2 separate regions of the Homo sapiens genome follow, and region 2 is linked to region 1. The links are contacts of gene promoters, found by promoter capture Hi-C in blood cells and fetal thymus (Javierre and others, 2016). All regions are on one chromosome and are shown on one strand. Each heading gives the region's core, a stretch centred on a gene start or on the middle of the fragment in contact. The rest is flanking DNA. Distances are from core to core; before and after follow the strand shown.

The links. Contacts are between HindIII fragments. The CHiCAGO score rates a contact against its expected background, and 5 or more counts as called.
Region 2: a fragment that was not itself captured here is called in contact with the fragment with the promoter of ABL2 in region 1 in 1 of 17 cell types (activated CD4 T cells); the score reaches 5.1 in activated CD4 T cells.

Annotation. Positions count from the first base shown.
Region 1 is chr1:179,228,311-179,231,108 of GRCh38, reverse strand. ABL2 (ABL proto-oncogene 2, non-receptor tyrosine kinase) reads left to right here and starts at 1,432. Exons shown (of 12, transcript NM_007314.4): 1 at 1,432-1,868. The coding sequence starts at 1,712. RefSeq lists a silencer at 1,517-1,926 and an enhancer at 1,382-2,138. The HindIII fragment of the contact is 8,969 bases long and covers 1-2,798 here.
Region 2 is chr1:179,313,547-179,316,344 of GRCh38, reverse strand. The region is part of intron 2 of SOAT1 (sterol O-acyltransferase 1); the gene reads right to left. Among named protein-coding and RNA genes, the nearest start is that of SOAT1, 21 kb to the right of the region's middle. The HindIII fragment of the contact is 1,919 bases long and covers 475-2,393 here.

The sequences.
Region 1 (2,798 bases), core at 183-2,682:
AAAAGACAGGTATTTTAAACACAGGGAAACTTTAATCCAAATGGAAAGTTCATATTTTATCCAGTGTTTACACATAGTGTTTCCGTTCCCATTTTGGAGTTAATTTCAGTTATTTCTGGCTACACCCTAGATGGCAATGGAATAATTTCATAGTGCTTTTACAACAGGCAATATCTACGTCAGTGGATGGTTCATCTAAGGTCAACCTGGTTCAGGAAAGATATGCAAAGGAGAGCTTCATCCACCTCTTCTCCCAACCCTACATTTCCAGTGGTTGTTTTGTTCCTTCTTTGCAGTGGCTCCCGTCCTGTCTAATTTAAGCAAAATTTCAGTGTAGTACCTCCATTAACTGATACTTTTTATAAAGCAAATTGGGAAGCCAAAAGAATAACAGGAGAATGATCAAGATTTGAGAATTAAAAAAAATTGAATTAAGATGCAAGTAAACACAGTGGGAGAGGGGGATGGCGAGTCAATTGTATATAGTATATGTGTATGTATAAAACGCTTCTTTTCTGCCTCATTCACTCTCTTTAGACTGCATAAGCTAAAATGAGTAAGTTCTGACTCAGAAACAGGGTCAAAGATATATATTTTTTCTCCTTTGTCATCAAAAGAAGACCTGACCACGTGCACAGTGTATAAAGGATGCCAGTGGGAAGATTAACTTTACTGTCAGGCATTGTAAGGAAACAGAAACTCACATATGGTGAGATGGTAAAGGAGTTCAAGAGGAATTCATGGTAATATAATATGAGGAATGGGGCTACAATTGCGTCCCCAATGAGACTATAGAAGGCACACAATCCAGGCCAGTGCGATTTAACATCATGAAATAATCTCCAAAAATTAAAATCAAATAAGGTAGCATTTTACTCTCTTCTTGTAAATTTTATACCATTTTAATTTTTACTGGAGGCCTGCTGCTGACAAGGGTGTTTAAAAGAGATCCCCCTGGGTATTTTAGAGCTCCTTAACTGGATGGCAAGGACCAAATAAATGCCTTGTGCTTTTCTGCCCCACCTGTGCCTGCACCTGAGCTGCGCACGCGGTGGCACTGAGCCCTCGACTCACTCATTTGACAGGTGGAGGTGGGATGGGGAAGGCCGGAGACCGACCAACCCCAAAGGCGGTAGCGTGTGGAGCCGAACGCGGGAGGGGGTCGGCTGAGGCGGATTGAGGGGGGGGACGCCGAGGTGCGGCGACAGGACGCGGAGGACGAAAGACCTCAAGCAGCGGTGGCCGGCAAATGAGGTGGGCACTGGGGGACCCACCCTGCGAGGAGGCGGGGGCGGGGACGGGGGGCGCGGCGCGGCAGGGCGGGGCGGCAGCCGGGAAGCCCTCCTTCCCCGCGGCGGAGGTGACTGGCGGGCGGGGGGCGGGGGGCGGGGGGCGGGAGACGCTCTGTCCCACGCTTTCCCAGCGCTCGGTGGTTTAAAGATGGCGGCGGCGGTGGCGGCGGCGGCGGCGGCGGCGTTGGGGGCGCGGAGCCGCGACAGGAGGAGGGAAAAGCAGAATCTGTGAGTCGCCTGGAGGCAGCGCGGCGGCTGCCGTGAGGAGGCCGGGTGCGGAGCCGCCGGTGGCCCAGCCACTCAGGGCCAGGGCCTGGGCTGGGAGGGAGAGACCGGAGCAGCGCCAGGAGCCCGAGGCCGGAGCCGAGGAGGAATGTGACCAGGGGTCGGCGGGGGCGCGGGAGTACGCGAGAGCAGGGATGGGGCAGCAGGTGGGCCGCGTCGGGGAAGCTCCGGGGCTCCAGCAGCCTCAGCCCCGCGGGATCCGGGGCAGCAGTGCAGCCAGGCCCTCCGGCCGCAGGCGGGACCCGGCGGGGCGCACCACAGAGACCGGCTTCAATATCTTCACCCAGCATGGTGAGTGTGTCTGGGAGCCGGCATGAGAGCGTGGGGGAGGCCGGGGGTGGGGTCGGGGCGGGGTGGGTGGCGGACGGGCTGCCCGAGGGGTCGGAGGGTGGAAGGTGCCTGAGAGTGGGGGCGGAATCCGCTGCCATCTGGTCCAGTCCTGGGAGGCGAGTCACACCCCTCCCCCCTCGCGTCTCTAGCCTGGCTGGCAGATCCCGGGGGCGGAGAAGGAAAGAGAAGTGGGTTTGGGGACCCTGGATGGTCTGTCCTCTACTCTGGGACGGGACTATGCGGCTGCAGAAAGAAAGTGAATGGCAGCTTCAGGAGAGGGAAGGATGAAGGGCAGTATTAGCTCAGTCCCAGAGGTGGGAGCATAAACCCGTCGTTAGTGAAGGGGAAATGGGTTGTATCCTAAGGGATTGGGAAATGGGAACTGAATTTCAGGAGATTGTGGAGTACAAGGTATGTGTTTACGTTAGGTGATGAGCAGTGTCAGGATAGTGAACTGTGGACAGTGTCAAATGCTTTTCTGTAGGGAAGATGAAGTTAGCATCATCTTATCACTTTTGACATGCTTTTGTGGTTTATTTTGTTTTGTATTTCGTTTTTACTAGAAATGAAAGGCTTTGCCAAAGCCTCTGTACTATGCTTCAGAGTAGGACACACAATTCTGAGATTGCTGGCAAGGGCTAGAGGTTGGTGGGCATGGTTAGGACGTCAGTCAGGATATGAACAAGTTTTCCTTTGTAGTGTGTGCGTGTGCCCATATACATACATACATGTATGTATGCTCCCTGTAGTCTGAAACCTATTATTTTGATCTCATTGTCAATGTATTTTTAGAATAGTTGTCTCCAAACTTTTTTTGTCTTGTTTTTTTGTTTTGTTTTTGTTTTTGTTTTTTTTGAGACAGAGTCTCGCTTTGGTCCCCATGATGGAGTG
Region 2 (2,798 bases), core at 185-2,684, 85 kb before region 1:
AAAAAAAACTAAAAGCACCCAGAAAGAATATCAACTACGCAAGTACTGCAATTACAACGCATACCTGACTTAACATCAATGGAAGCCAGGAGACAGTGGAATGTCTTCAATTATCGATAATGGCAGAATTGATGACTGGGAAGAAGGCTAGGTCATATAATAACAAGGGCTTTGAGGAAACTAAGAATTTTATGCAGGAAAATACTGAGCTGATATTGGAAGATGGAAAGGACCACATAACAGAGAAATGCAATAAATCCGGACAAAAAGTGATGTTGTAAATGGCAAGGAGAATGGAGAGCAGAGGATTAATTTAAGATATTTACAAATTGGTAACTGATTAAGAAATATAAGGGTAAGACAAATGTCCATTTGATTTTTCAATAAGTTAAAGAATATATTTTTAATTTAGTTCTATGACCAGACCATGGTTTCATAAATGAACTATTTCATAAAAAAATGAAGACAAAAGCTTCTTTCCTTCAACTAATTCAGCTACCATGGGAGAGGAGGATTGGTAAGGAGACTGTAAAAGATTAATTCTCACTACTTGTGCATCCCTTCCAAAAAGAATCTGTCTATCCATAAATAACACGACAGCCATCATTACAAACAGGCTTTGAGATGCAGCCACTGGAAAGTTAGAAAAAAGATTTGTTCACAGAGTCTCTGAAGACCCCACTGAAAATGACAAAGTTAAGTAAGTGGAAGAAAAATATATTTTAAAATGCTAATTCATTTTCCTTTACCTTCAAAATACCTCTTCATACAATATTACAAAGAAATTCTTAACTTTCTACAATTTAAAATTTAAAAATTAGATGTCAAAGTCAAAAGAATGCCTAAAAGCTAATATCCACTGCTTTTTTTTTTTTAAGACAGGTTCTCACTCTGTTGCTCAGGCTAGGGGGCAGTGGCTATGGCATGATCATAGCTCACTGTGGCCTGGAACTCCTAGGCTCAAGGGATCCTCCCGCCTCAGCCTCCCAAGTACCTAGGACTACAGGCACATGCCACCACACTCACATGCCACCACACCCACCTAATTAAAAAAAATTTTTTTGTAAAGGCAGAGCCTCGCTATGTTGCCCAGGCTGGTCTTGAACTCCTGGCCTCCAGCAATCCTCATGCCTTGGCCTCTGAAACTGTTGGGATTACAAGGATGAGCCACCATCCCCACCCACATCCAATGATTTGAAGAACTATTTACAAGCACTCAACTCAAGGCTTCTCAATTTCTAAAACACTGACCCTGAAACAATGATAAGCCAGGACTGAGGGTGATGTAATTTCGGAATCATTTGCCTCCCTCTAGTAACACACTAACTGCTAACACTAGGAGTCAGTTATTTGCTATCTGAAACTTAATAGAACCCCGCATAAGTCCATAAGGAAAACTATTCAACATTTTTTCCCTTAAATTTCTGATTTCTAAAAAAATCAGGCTTGCAATACTTATCTTCATGAATAAATGCTATCTCTTTTAAAACCTGCTATACTTAATGGGAATGTTTAAAATTTATTCCTTGACATGTCAAAAATCTTATTTTAACCAGTTTTGATGAAAATTTTTGTAAAATTATGACATGCTTTGCTACCCTAAAAAAAACACCAGACTCCAGGCGTGCTGGCTCACGCCTATTATCATCCCAGCACTTTGTGAGGCTGAGACAGGAGGGTCACTTGAAGCCAGGAGTTTGAGACCAGCCTGAGCAACAAAGTGAGACCCCCCCATTCTCTACAAAAAAATAAAACAAAAATGTACTTTACCCTACATAATCTTCGGAACAAGTAAGAGAGATCCATTGTTGTACCATACTATTATAGTGATATCTTTAGCAAAAACGGAAATGTGGAGTGCAATCAGGCCCCACTCAGCAGTCCTGGGGAGCTGTGCCTTTCTACCTAGGCTGCTTCCACAGGGTTCTCCCTAACAATCGTACACTTCTATTACTATAGTCAATCTACCGCCAAAGCTACACAGAAGAAAAGAGACAAATAACCAGGCTTGTTAAATTGGTAACTAATTTACTCAATTTATATACTCATGCATTAAGTAAAAGCCCACTGAGGACCCAATACATGCAGGGCAAACCCTCCCTTCAGGATCTCAGGAGAAAACTACAAATAGGGAAAAGGACAATACAGAGGAGCGCTGTGGGAGAATGAGGGGTGTAGGAGGCTTTTGCAGGAGTCAATATTTGAACTGAGTCTCAAATAATAAAGAAAAATTATGGTGAACAAATGCTAGAAACATTATTCCAGGCAAAGGAATGAAGCATGAAGACTTGTTGGATTTTTCTGAGGCCTGAAGCTCAGTCAGATGCCTCTTAATGCCATGCTCTCTTTTCTTGACAATATTGTATTTAATAGGCTTTGGCCTAAGGGAAGCTTATCTACTTACTTTCTAGGCCACCAGTTACATTCCTGATCAGTGTCGTCCTATAAACATACAATGTGTGGCCAGGCACGGTGGCTCACACCTGTAATCCCAGTACTTTGGGAGGCCGAGGCAGGCAGATCACCGGAGGTCAGGAGTTCGAGACCAGCCTGACCAACATGGGGAAACCCCGTCTCTACTAAAAATACAAAATTAGCCAGGCGTGGTGGCGCATGCCTATAATCCCAGCTACCTGGGAGGGTGAGGCAAGAGAATCGCTTGGACCTGGGAGGCGGAGGTTGCGGTGAGCAGAGATAGCACCATTGCACTCCAGCCTGGGCAACAAAAGCAAAACTCTGTCTAAAAAAAATATATATATACATATATATACACACATATACATATATATATACACATA